3 separate regions of the Homo sapiens genome follow, and regions 2 and 3 are each linked to region 1. The links are contacts of gene promoters, found by promoter capture Hi-C in human tissues and cell types (Jung and others, 2019). All regions are on one chromosome and are shown on one strand. Each heading gives the region's core, a stretch centred on a gene start or on the middle of the fragment in contact. The rest is flanking DNA. Distances are from core to core; before and after follow the strand shown. Region 1 holds the start of CAPN1 (calpain 1). Region 2 holds the start of LTBP3 (latent transforming growth factor beta binding protein 3). Region 3 holds the start of ATG2A (autophagy related 2A).

Evidence for each region. Contacts are between HindIII fragments. The study calls those that stand out against the background at their distance.
Region 2: the fragment with the promoter of LTBP3 here is called in contact with the fragment with the promoter of CAPN1 in region 1 in 2 of the 25 tissues and cell types used here (mesendoderm cells and spleen).
Region 3: a contact is called between the fragment with the promoter of ATG2A here and the fragment with the promoter of CAPN1 in region 1, in 1 of the 25 tissues and cell types used here (mesenchymal stem cells).

Annotation. Positions count from the first base shown.
Region 1 is chr11:65,179,014-65,183,177 of GRCh38, forward strand. CAPN1 (calpain 1) reads left to right here and starts at 2,915. Exons shown (of 22, transcript NM_005186.4): 1 at 2,915-3,000; 2 at 3,688-3,955; 3 at 4,115-4,164. The coding sequence starts at 3,689. It overlaps CAPN1-AS1 (CAPN1 antisense RNA 1), which reads right to left and starts at 2,821. Exons shown (of 2, transcript NR_145677.1): 1 at 2,212-2,821; 2 at 858-2,059. RefSeq lists silencers at 2,234-2,683, 3,285-3,579 and enhancers at 2,602-3,391, 3,392-4,164. The HindIII fragment of the contact is 8,891 bases long and covers 489-4,164 here.
Region 2 is chr11:65,556,529-65,560,692 of GRCh38, forward strand. It overlaps LTBP3 (latent transforming growth factor beta binding protein 3), which reads right to left and starts at 1,831. Exons shown (of 28, transcript NM_001130144.3): 1 at 1,101-1,831. The coding sequence starts at 1,431. RefSeq lists silencers at 1,660-1,899, 1,950-2,109. The HindIII fragment of the contact is 15,125 bases long and covers 1-4,164 here.
Region 3 is chr11:64,915,411-64,919,574 of GRCh38, forward strand. It overlaps ATG2A (autophagy related 2A), which reads right to left and starts at 1,799. Exons shown (of 41, transcript NM_015104.3): 1 at 1,555-1,799. The coding sequence starts at 1,725. It also overlaps a transcript of PPP2R5B not described here. RefSeq lists a silencer at 1,711-2,020 and an enhancer at 2,071-2,200. The HindIII fragment of the contact is 28,686 bases long and covers 1-4,164 here.

The sequences.
Region 1 (4,164 bases), core at 1,665-4,164:
TTACAGTATCATACAGAATAGTTTCGCTGTGCTAAAAATGCCCTGTGCTCCATCCCTCTCCTACCCCTCTGAATCCCTGGCAACTGCTGATCTTTTTACCATTGCTAGTTTTGCCTTTTCTAGAACGTCATATAGAGTTATTGGAATCATACAGTATGCAGCTTTTTAATACCAGCCTCTTTTACTTAGCAATATGCGTTTAAGGTTATGCTATGTCTTTTTGTAGCTTGATGGCTGATTTCTTTGTATCGCTAAATTTTAAAGAAATTGCCAAACTGTCTTCCAAAGTGGTGGTGATCATTTTACCCTCTCTTGGTGTATGACAGCTCCAGTTCTTCTATATCCTTGACAACATAACAACACTTGGTATGGTTGATCTTAACTTTTAGCCATTCTAGTAGGTGTTCTTTTAGAAGCAGTCCTTCTAGTGGCTTTAATTTGCATTTCCCTAAGAGTAATGCACTCAGTGTTTTTTAATGTGCCTATTTGCCATCCAGAGATCTTTTTGGATGAAGTGTCTGTTCAAATGTTTTGTCCATTTTTTGACAGGCGCGGTGGCTCACCCTGTAATCCCAGCACCTTGGGAGGCAGAGGCGTGCAGATCACTTGAGGTCAGGAGTTTGAGACCAGCTTGGCTAACATGGTGAAACCCTGTCTCTACTAAAAATACAAAAATTAGCCTGGTGTGGTGGCGGGCGCCTGTAATCCCAGCTACTGGGGAGGCTGAGGCAGGAGAATTGCTTGAACCCAGGAGGTGGAGGTTGCAGTGAGCCAGGATCGCGCCACTGCATTCCAACCTGGGTGATGGAGCGGGACTCCATCTCAAAAACAAAAACAAACACCAGAAAACAAACAAATGTTTTGTCCATTTTTATTGGATTTTTATTCAATTGTAAAAGTTCTTTATACAAGTCCTACATCAGATAGAATTTTTACAAATATTCGTCCTAGTCTATGGCTTATCTTTTCATTTTTAATAGTTTCGTGCATTTTGAGAAACAAAAGCGTTTTATTTTGATGAAGTTCAATTTATTGATTTCTTCTATCATTTACACTTTTTGTGTCATATTTAAGAAATCTGGCCAGGTGCCAAAGCTCACACCTGTAATCCCAGCACTTTGGGAGGCTCAGGCAGGAGGACTGCTTGAGCCCAGGAGTTCATGACCAGCCTGAGTAACACAGCAGGACCCCATTTCTACAAAAAATTTAAAAATTAGCTGTGTGTCGTGGCACGTGCCTGTAGTCTCAGCTACTCAGGAGGCTGAGGTGAGAGGATCTCTTGAGCCCAGGAGTTTAAAGTTACAGTGAGCTGTGATCAGGGCACTGCACTCCTGCCTGGTCAATGAAAGCAAGACCCTGCCTTTAGAAAAGAAAAAAGAAATCTTTTCAAACCCAATATTGTTAAGATTGTCTCCATTTTTAAAAAAAAAAGTTTTATGGTTTGGCCATTTATATTTAGGTGTGTAATCCAGTTTGAGTTAAATTTTGATGGTGTATCCTAAATAGTTATCAAATCCATCTACTTCTGCCTGCCACCTCTCTAGTTTAAACCACCCTTCTCTGTCCCTGGACACCTGCGCAGAAAGCCTAGGAGCTGGTTCCACCCATCACTCACCAGGTTAGGTATTTCAGGCAAGTCACACCCTCTCAGGCCTCAGTTTTCCTCTTTTGTTAACTGAGGGTGAAAGTGGGGTTAGATTAGATCAGCGGCTCTTAACTTTTGAGGGGTCGTGGGCCCTAGAGTCCTGGGAACGCTATGCAGTTTCCTCAGCAAAATGCTTGCATCCACAACATGCAAGACTGCAGCAGCTGCTGGGCTGGGGCTGCGAGACCAGCGAAAAGCCCTGACTTGGGGGGGTCTCGGGAGTCTCTGCAGTCTCCCCACCCACACCCCCGGCCTCCGCGCCGAATCCTGGCCCCCCAACTTCTTGCAGCCCGTGAAGCAGGATCTCAGGGTCCTGGGGGTGGGGAGAGGGGGCTGCCGTCCTGCTCGCAGCCTCTGCCGCCCTCTCCTGGGTAAGGTGACACATGGGCGCTTCCAGGTGGGTGGGCTGAGAGCCTGGGGGAGAGAACAGGGATGTCCACCTCTCTAAGTTTCCAGGTTCAAGAAACCCCAGAACGTTAGAGAAAGATGGGCTCCCACAATTGCCCAACCCCATCCCATAGGATGCACGCATGCGGAAAGTCGGGCCGAACGGGGCAGGGACTTACCCAAGGTCACGCAGCGAGCCCGGTCCCCCTGCGTTCCCCGGGGAGCGCTGAGCCGGGACGCGGCGGTGGGGTGGGGAAGGGGAGTGGCGCGGCCCTGCGGGGTGAGGCTGCCGTTTGCTGAGTGTCCGGCAGGGGTCTGCTCGCTGCCAGCCCGGCCCCTCCTCAGAGCAGCTGCCGCAGCCCGAGGTAATCTCGGCCCCGCGCCGGGGCTGGCTGGGAACGGCGGGAGCAGCTGCGGTCGCGCGGAGCGAGGGGAGCTGGGGACCGGGCGGGCCCGGGGCTGCGGGAGGCGGCGCCGCCGCACAATCGCCCCGGAATGCCCGCCAGGGCGCGCGTGGGGTGCGGCCGTCCGGCCCTGCAACTCGAGCTGCTGCCCCTGGTTAAAAATACCCCCTGCCCGGCCCTCCCCCTCCGTTCCCCGCGGTGCCCTTCCGCCGCGCCCCAGCCCCCCCATCCCCCCCCGCGCTGGCCCCTCCCCGGGGACTGCTCTGCCTTTTACTAATTTGTCCTCTCGCGGAATTGGCCCCCGGCCTGCGGAGGGAGGGGCGGGGAGACACCGTGAGTAAGAGATAGTCAGAGACCGTGCCGGAGAGATAAGGGAGAGCCGAGAGGAAGCGGGGTAGGAGCCCCAGGAGGAGGAGGAGGAGAAGGAGAGAGGGAGGGCGGAGGGCGGAGGGGCGGCGGGAGGAGGGCGGGGAGGAGCGCTCTTCCTGGTTGGGCCCTGCCCTGAGCTGCCACCGGGAAGCCAGCCTCAGGGACTGCAGCGACCCCCAAACACCCCTCCCCCAGGTAAGAAGCTGGGTAGCCGAGCCGGGATTCCTTGACCCTGGCCACTGCTCCTGGGCTGAGGGGCTGCCCCAGCACGGTCCCTTCTCGGGGGCCTCTGCGTTCCTGGAGCAGGGGTGGGGGCTGGCGGAGCGGCACAGCCCAGGCGCCTGTCCCAGCCTGGCTCACCGCTGTCCCCAGGGGCTGGGCTAGGGCCCACCAGCTCTGATATCGAGCCTGCTGCGGGGGCCTGAGGAGGGGGACCCCGACCGTCTGGGGTTTTCAGCCCACGGCAAGGGGCCGGTGCACCAGGAGCTTGGTTAGTTTGGGGAGGGGGTTGCAGGCCTGTGAACAGGATCAAAGAGGCCTTCCCTGCTGTGTCCCACCTGCCCAGTTCCTTGTGCTGTCTGGAGGCTCCGCCCTGCCCCACCTGACCTGCTGGCTCACTACAGAGCTGCAAGCCCCTGACAATGGGATCCGGGAAAGGAGAGGTGGCCGGCACGCCTGGGAACTGGGAAATCCCTTTCCTGGATTCACTGGGAGCACCGGGAGGTGGCTGAGAACCCTACTTCTGTGAGGGGAGCAGTGAGGCAGGGAAACCCTAGGTTTGGGGATGGATAAGCAGGGGCAGGAGAGCAGAGCTTGCAGGCAGGAGCCCAGGTTCTAGTCTTGGGAAGGCCTGGGTTCTGAGCAGGCCCATCTGTCCGGCAGGATGTCGGAGGAGATCATCACGCCGGTGTACTGCACTGGGGTGTCAGCCCAAGTGCAGAAGCAGCGGGCCAGGGAGCTGGGCCTGGGCCGCCATGAGAATGCCATCAAGTACCTGGGCCAGGATTATGAGCAGCTGCGGGTGCGATGCCTGCAGAGTGGGACCCTCTTCCGTGATGAGGCCTTCCCCCCGGTACCCCAGAGCCTGGGTTACAAGGACCTGGGTCCCAATTCCTCCAAGACCTATGGCATCAAGTGGAAGCGTCCCACGGTGAGAGGGGCCATCCTGGGTGGGACTCGGCTAAGCCAGATCCTGGATGAGGAGTAGGGATGGGACTCCATGTCCCTGGTGGGGAATGGGGTCTGGGGTGGCCTGGTGCCAATTTCTGGGAGGGGCTGGCCGAGGAACAGGACTCTGGGTCTCTCGTAGGAACTGCTGTCAAACCCCCAGTTCATTGTGGATGGAGCTACCCGCACAGA
Region 2 (4,164 bases), core at 581-3,080, 380 kb after region 1:
AAAAACACAAAAACAAAAACATTCCCACATACTCTCTAACAGCGACTAGAGACACACACCCAAGACAACACAAAGACGGGTACTTCACAGTGTGCCACGCCATGCCCATGGCATGACCCCAGACACAGGGGCAATATGCGCACAGACACACGCACGCACACCCCATCTCATGACAAATTTGAGCCACATGAGTGGGGTTCCTTAGCTCTGTGAGTGGGAGAGTGAATATAGGAATGTGTAAGAGGGGCTGTTTTGCTGGTGCCATCCTGGGCCTGGCCTAATTACCCTGTCCAGGAGGGTAATTACTGCTGGGACACCTCCCCGAGCCTGGCCCACGGGGCCTAGCAGGAGGATGACTGAGCCCCAGGCCTGGCCCTTTAAAGAGAGATGCTGGGGAGGGGGTGGACTCCAAGCTGAACTGGGGAGGGTGTAGGGGCTTGGGGGAGGATGAGGGGGGCCCTGAGGGCCTCTGAGGCAGGATGTTAGGAGCTTATGGGGAGGCATTGGAAAAGGAGAGGCTGAGAACCCCGAACTAGTCCCTACCTTCAGGCCTGCACCCTACTTTTAGGCCTCAACACCCTCCCTACTCAGACCTTGCCAGTAGCCGGCTCCCATCCCCAGCCCTGACCTTAGCTCCTCCTCCCAGGGAATGCAGGTGTCTACTCTGGCAGGCCCTACTTTAGACATTTTGTAAAGACTTTTCTTGTTTCTTCCAGCAAGTCTGCTTCTTGCGGGAATATTTAGCCCTTCTCTGAGGCTTCCTGTCCCCGGCTCACATTCCTCAAAAACCCTGTGTGCTCCTGCTCAGAACTCAGCACCTTCTGGGAAGCCAGTGTCATCCAGGACCTCTGCATTTCCCCACCCCTTAGGCCCCAACCCTAACGCAAAGCTTCAAAGTCCAGGCCTCCATGCAGCCCTCCAACTCTGGCCCCCAGAGTTCCAGCCTCCCAAGTTCCCTGAGGCCCCTGGTCCCCCAGGCCCTCGGATCTCTGCCCTTTATACCCTCAGCCCCCAGTCTCTAAGGCCAAGACCCCACTAGCTCTCCCACCGGGCCTGGTGCCTGTCCTTCCCCTGCCCCCAGCCGTGCCCCCGGCCCTCACCCACGCGGAAGCCGGAGCCCGTGAGCGTGTCTGTGCTGTGGCCGTTCTCTCCGATGAGCGTCATGTTGGAGCCCTGCTGACAACTGTCCCGACACTGGCCCTTGAGACAGGTCCGCTTGCAGATCACCGGCGCAAAGACCACCTTGAAGCGCTCGCGGGCCAGCGCCCCGCCCCCGCCTGCGCCCCGCTCGCCGGCCGGCCCCCCCTCGACCCTGCCGCCCAGGCCCAGCAGCAGCAGCAGCAGCAGCAGCAGCAGCGCCAGCAGCCCCGCCGCCCCCGCCCCGCGCATCTCAGGGGCCAGGCCGCCAGCAGCCCCTCGGGGCCCGGGCATCCGGGGCCGCAGGACCCGGGGGAGGGGGGGCGCGCCCGGGCGGGGCGAGGGGCCCGCGCCCGAAGGGAGTAGAGGGCCGGGAGCCCCGGGAGAGGGTAGGGGGCAGCGAGGGAGGGCAGCGGGGGAAGCGGGCGGGAGGGGACCGCGGGGGCCCGGCGGGAGGCGCGGAGATGCAGACTGGACAGCGGGGAGCGCAGAAACTTCCCAGCCCCAGGACGAAGCCCAGACCAGGCCCCGAACTCAGGCAGGAGCGAGGAGGCCGGAGCAAGTTGAGGCGGAGAGGAGGAGCGAGGGAGAGGAAGGCCGGGCGGCCGGCCCGCTCCGCGCCTCCCCCTGGCCGGGCTCCTCTCCCGCGGCCGCGGGGAGGCAGGGAGCGCGCGGGGAGGGCTCAGGGAGAAGTGAGCAGTTGTTTTCCCTGGCTGGAGCGCGGCGCGGCGGCGGCGAGGGGGGCTGGGACGCTGGCCCCGGGCCAGGGACACAGTTTTTTTTTTTTTGTTGTTTAAAGCGTCGCCTCTGCCGCCTGGAGAAGCGAGGGTGTGCAGGCTGGCGGAGGCTGGGGGGTGGCGCGGGGACAGTCCCCACCCCAGATGCCCGCCCCCGCCGGAACCCGCGGCCGCGCTGGGCCCTTTCCAGAGGGCCCTCACCTGGGACCGTCTGGCCGGCCGCGGATTCCTCCGGGCGGGGCGGGGCGGGGAGGCCTGCGTAGAGCGAGATACCGAGGCTGAGGGAGAGAGGTGGCCCTGCCGGGTCACACTGACGATGGAGGCCGGGTGGAGCCGGAGCCCAGGCCTTCCAGCTCTTTCCCAGCCTCCCTTGCAAACGTGGGGGTCTCAGGGCCCCAAAGTAACTTCTCGTTAGTGCTGGTCCAATCCCCTCTGAGGAAAGGGCTAAAGGGTGGGGACAGCCTTTGGCCAGGGCTCACGGAGGTCCCAGGAGGAAGTCTGTGGGGTCCAGAAGAGGAGCAGAAAGAACAAAGCTAGAACCCAGCTTCCCTGCCAGCCCCCTCGGAATGGCTTCCTGGTGCCCACCCTGCCACCTCCCCCCTTTCCTTTCGTCTGGCCGTGCTGGCGGGGCTGGCTCTGGGCCTCAGACACTCTGGAATCGCCAAGGTCTGAGCTCAGGGCCTGGCCCCCTTCCCAGGCTAACAGCCGGGAGGACGGGGGCGCTGTCCGAGGGCCCAGGGGCTGGAGAGGGGCACAGCAGAGCCCCAGGGCAGGGGCTGGCAGCGGCTGGGGGTGGGGGTCTTCAGGTTGGCCATGGCTGGAGAGGAGCATAGTTCCAGACCAGGCTTGTCCGCTGGTCTGGAAGGAAAGGCTGCAACGTGCGGGGGCCCAGGCCTTACTGTGGGGCCTGCCAGGAGACCCCAGGGTTCCGTCTCTGACTCACAGAACTCAGCAGGAGGTGGGGACGGCTAGGGCACATCCAGGAAAAGCGCTGCCAAGTCAGGGCGGCACCAGACCCTCTCCCGGACAGCACCCGGGGCAGCAGTCTAATTGGGGAGAGGAGGTTCAGGGACTCACTTTCAGGCACACCTGTCCAAGGAACTCTGTTTTTACTTTGAGCGTAAGTTGATGTGGGTAGCTTTAGGGGGACGCTTAGTAAGTCCCCCTTACTAAGCGGTGCAGGGCTGGGAGGGACAATCACATGTCCCCAGGGATCCCTGCTGCCGGAATCCAGGATGGGGTGTGAGGGGCAAGCCCCTGCTTCTTGGGGCCCTGGTCCACACGGAGGCAGGGAATAATGCTAGGTGCCGACCACCTGCCAGGCACAGGGCTGAGCATTGTATACTCATTTTTTCCTAACACTCATCTGAACCTGTCCTGACTCTGCCTAGAGCTGGCTGTGGCTCACCATGGAGCACAGCACAGTCAAACAGTCCAGGGTTGGATTCTTACTGTCTCTAAGCCCCAGTTTCCTTGCTTGTGAGATGGGTATCTATTCACTCAACATCTATGTTCAACTACTGGTAATAAAAAACAAAAAATTAAAAAATAAATGTAAAAAATTCACTCAACAAACTGAGACTCCACCACATCCTAAGCTCTTGGCCACAAATAGAACCAGTCCTGCCTTCCTGGAGCTGCTGTACTAGGAGAGCTGGATATGTGCCAGATCAATTCACACAGAACTGTGGCTACAACAGAGGCTGGTACCGTGACAGAGAAGGGCAGGGAAGCAGGACAGGAGAGGGCTGGGACCTGGGAGACAAAGAGAGTCTTCCATCGGAAGCTGGAAGATGAGTAGGAGTGAGTCACACCTGTGGGCATCTGACCTCAGGGGAGGCTGCAGGGGGAGGCTATCCAGAGAACTGAGGGAAGGCCAGTGGAACAACAGGGTGTGGTGGAGAGGGAGAGCCGAAGGTGTAGTGGTGGTGGGAGGGGCCGGCCATGGTGAGGAATTTGCTTTTATTCTCATTGCAGTGGGACTGTGTCAGGGCAAGAGCGGGCACTCTGCCTTCATCCCAGGAGAGAGATCTCACTTGGCCCTGGGAGAGATGTATTTGGGAGGGGAGATGTAAAGACTGGGTGAAGTAGGGGTGCTGGAGAGGTAGGTGGCATGAATGGCCCCCAGATTCCTGGCCTGATCTCTGGATGGGCGAAGAAGAGGGGAGGCAGAGGAGCTGGAAACATGGGGCAGGGTCCACAGCTCTGTTCTGGTCCTGCTGAGTTTGAGATGCTTGTGAGTCATCCAAGTGGAGGTGCCCGAACCCGGGAGTCTGCAGCTCAGACAGGA
Region 3 (4,164 bases), core at 549-3,048, 260 kb before region 1:
GCCTAGAGACAGGACTAATCTAGTCACCCAGTATACAACAGGGACTGAGACTGGGATGCGGGCCTCTTTCTTTTCATGCCACTTCAGAGGCCCCAGATACTCAGTTTCTTTGGGGGCCTTCAAGGCGGGGCCTGCAGGCTGAGCTGGGAGGGAGGAGGGGCTGGTTATCAAGAAAGCGCCTGCATTCCACCAGGGCCCTAGAGAAGCCAATTCAATCCCCAACAAGAGGGCAGGGAACAGGAGTAGGGGCGTTTTCTGGAGCTGAAAGTAAAAAGGGGAAGCCTAGGGCTGGGTATGGTGGTTCATGCCTATAATCTCAGCACTTTGGGAGGCTGAGGTGGGAGGATCCCTTCAGGGGTTCAAGGCTAGCCTGGGCAACATAGCGAAATCCTGTCTCTATAAAAATAAAAAAGGGGCAGCCTAGAGACGGCCTTAGAGGCTGAGGCTAAGGTTAGAGGTCAGAGAGGGCTTCCTACACCAGAATTCACAGACAGCAGGCCACTGGGGGGTGCCCCCAGTTCAGGGCCCACGATTATCCTACCCCACATTTGCTCACCAGGGCCTGGCCTACCCCCAAAGCCTAGCTCTTCTGCCCAGATTAGCAGCCCCCTGAGTCCAGCCACAAAACTGAGAAGTCCCTGCCTCCATGCCCACCCCTGCTGCTCTGGACCTGGTGGATCGACCAGGACGCGCCTCTAATTGGTGGCTCCTTCAAAGCTCCCCAGGTCAGCTGAGCTGTGAGTCAGGGCTCCTCACCGTTCCCAGCCTCAAGCCTCTGACCTTACACCTCTTGGCCTCCCTAGCATCTCCCTTGGCCTCCTCCCGGCTTGAAGCCAGATCTCCCCACCTTTCCTCCAGGGCCTCCCTCCAGGCAGGGACACTGAGCCGGGGGGGTCGGTGGGAGATGTAGGTGGGGGCCATCCAGTCCCTCCCTAGACACCCACTTGGCCCATCCCACTCTCCCAAAAGCAGGAAGTAGGCAGCGACCCAGGCACACGAGGTGTTGATCAACACTGGTACTGACGTACTGACGCGGTTGTTGACATACACATCCGGTGGTTTGTTGATCCCACCTACGGGCTCAGGACCGTGGGGTCAAGAGGTCAGGGCACATGATCCACAGGTGTCCTCGCCAGGGCTCCGGACCCCTACCAGCTTCCCCCACCAGCTGCGCAGGCCCAAGTCTGTCACTGCCCTGGCCCAGCTCAGTTCCTACGCTCCCTCCCCAGCCCCTCCTCAGCCCGAGAGCCAACCTCCTTAACTCAGCCCCCAAACTCGACGAGTTTGTCTTGCATTCTCCAGACAGGTGATCTTGCCCTCTCCAGCCTCAGTTTCTCCTCCCGTGGAGACAGAAACCCCTTCCCGCTCAGTTTCTGGCTCTGGTAAGGAACTGAAGAGGCCAGCCGGGGTGCCTCTGACGCCTGGAGAGGGCAAGATTCCCCTGGCCTCTCTACGCCCGGTGCCTGATCCCCCAGCCCGATCCTGCCGCAGGGAGCCTCAGGTCGCTGCGCTCCCACCCTCCGCACCTTCCTGGACTCGGGCCTGGCTCCTCACCCAGATTTCCAGGTGGATGTCTCGCAGGGCAACGCTGCCCTTGTACAGATCGAGGCTGAGCTGGTCCAGGCTGAGGTGCTCTTGGAAGAAGTGACCTAAGTAGTGGTGCAGCAAGTAGCGGCAGACCCGCTCTTTCACACAGTTTGACCATGGCCACAGCCATCGTGACATCTCGGAGACCGCCGGGCCTGGGCCGCCTCCGCTTGCCGCCCGCCGGCGATCCCCGTCCGGCTCCGCTGTTCACTAGAGCCCCCGGCTCGCCCCGCCGCTTCTCTAGGCGCCAGGCCGCGCCTCCGGACGCCCAGCCACGCCCCCTACGCTCACTGTCATTGGCTATTGCAAAGGGCGAGGCCTACTGATTGGCTGCGCGGGGCGGAGCCTTCGGGCGCGAAAAAGGGACTGGGCTCTCTGCATGATATAGGGCTCTCAATCATGATTTACGCTTGCGTAAAGTACTGTGTGGGAGGACCTTTAACCTCCCCTCTACAGGCTCTGGGAAGGCTGTTGCTCCAGGTGCCGGCCCCTCAAAGGAATGCGCATGTGCTGATTCGTCCAACCACTTTAAGTGGTTGGGGAGGATTTAAAGGGACAGTGTCCCATCAAACTTCGTAGAAGCCTTCCCCAGAGGAGTAAACTCAGTGCGCGATCTTAAGCGCGCATCTGTGGAAACAATTAAGTGAGTAAACATTCGCATTTTGCAAAATCTTTTACCATCCTTTATCTCATTGAGCCCTCTTAATAATCGCTCAAGGTAGGGATTATTGCCACCGCTTTACAGGTAAGAAAACAGATTAAGATACGAGAAAGACCCTGCCTCAAAAACAAACAAAAATAAATAAGGGCTCTGAATCCATCACCAAGGAAGGTCTTTTTTCCCCTCCTCACCCCGGAATGCTCAGAGGGAGATTAACTGACCCTCCCTTCTCTCTGCCGTCGGTCAGGCCTTAGGCACCTCTCTGAAATAATAATAGCTTTTCATATCTCTAGTCCTAAAATCAAAGAATGGATTCTGCCTCCTTTAAGCAGGGGGGCATTGTTTTTGTACGGCCTTTGAGCTAAGTATGGTTTTTATGTCTTTTAAATGGTTAGGGGAAAAATCAAAAGAAGAATGAACTTTTCATGGCATGTGAAAAATCATATGAAATTCACATTCCAGTGTTTATACATAACGTTTTAGTGTCACACAGTCTTGCTCATTTGCTTAAGTTCTGCCCCGGGCTGCTTTCTTGCTACAAGAGCAGAATTCAGTACTTGAGACAGAGGCCTGCAAAGCCTAAAATATTTATTTTCTGGCCCTTCACAGAAAAAGTTTGCCAACCGCTGCTCTGTAGGGGGCAGCCACACAAAACCTCTTACATCATGGGCGACTTCAGGAACAGCCATAGGTAATTATGTTTCTTTTCTTTTCTTTTTGAGACAGACTCTCTCTGTCACCTAGGCTGGAGTGCAGTGGCACAATCTTGGCTCACTGCAACCTCTGCCTCCTGGGTTCAAATGATTCTGCTGCCTTGGCCTCCCAGAGTAGCTGGGATTACAGGCATGCACCACCGCACCCAGCTAATTACCGTGTTGGGCAGGCTGGTCTCGAACTCCTGACCTTAGGTGATCAGCCTGCCTTGGCCTCCCAAAGTGTTGGGATTACAGGCACGAGCCACCGTGCCCGGCCTATGTTTCTATTTTATTTATTTTTTTTGAGACAGAGTCTTGCTCTGTTGCCCAGGCTGGAGTGCAGTGGTGCAGTCTCCTCTCACGCAACCTCTGGCTCCTGGGTTCAAGGAATTCCTGAGTAGCTGGGATTACAGGTGTGAGCTACCCCACCTAGCCTGTGTTTCTATTTTAATCTTACTTGGGAGCTGGACTCTTACATTCTAATGCCAAAACTCAGCCTGAAGCAAGGGCAACCGCCCTGGCCCACCGGGCAGGGACCTGTATTCCAGTCCCACCCATGGGTGGTTTCTTCTCCTCTTGTGACCCTCAGTTTTATCCTATGTAACTGGGGTTGGGTTAGTAAGTGGAGATAGTTCATTACCTGGAAGGAGCAGGCTCCATTCAGGGAGGCAGGCTGATAGGACAGCCATTCAGAAAGTGCTTATGGGCCAGGCACGGTGGCTCATGCCTGTAATCCCAGCACTTTGGGAGGCCAAGGCGGGTGGATCATGAGGTCAGGAAATCGAGACCACCCTGGCTAACACAGTGAAACCCCATCTCTACTAAAAAATATTTAAAAAATTAGCAGAGTGTGATGGCGGGCGCCTGTAGTCCCAGCTACTCGGGAGGCTGAGGCAGGAGAATGGTGTGAACCTGGGAGGCGGAGCTTGTGGTGAGCCAAGTTTGTGCCACTGCACTCCAGCCTGGCTGACAGAGCGAGATTCTGTCTCAAAAAAAAAAAAAGAAGAAACTGCTTGTGGAAGGAATCTAGAGCTCTGCCTTCTTCCATGGCAGGCTGGGGGCAGTACTGTGCTCACCAACTGATTATTACATTAATAATAATATACCGGGTTGGGTTGCTCACTCCTGTAATCCCAGCACTTTGGGAGGCTGAGGCAGAAGGATCGCTTGAGCCCAGGAGTTTGAGACCAGCCTGGGCAACATAGCTGAATCCCTGTGTCT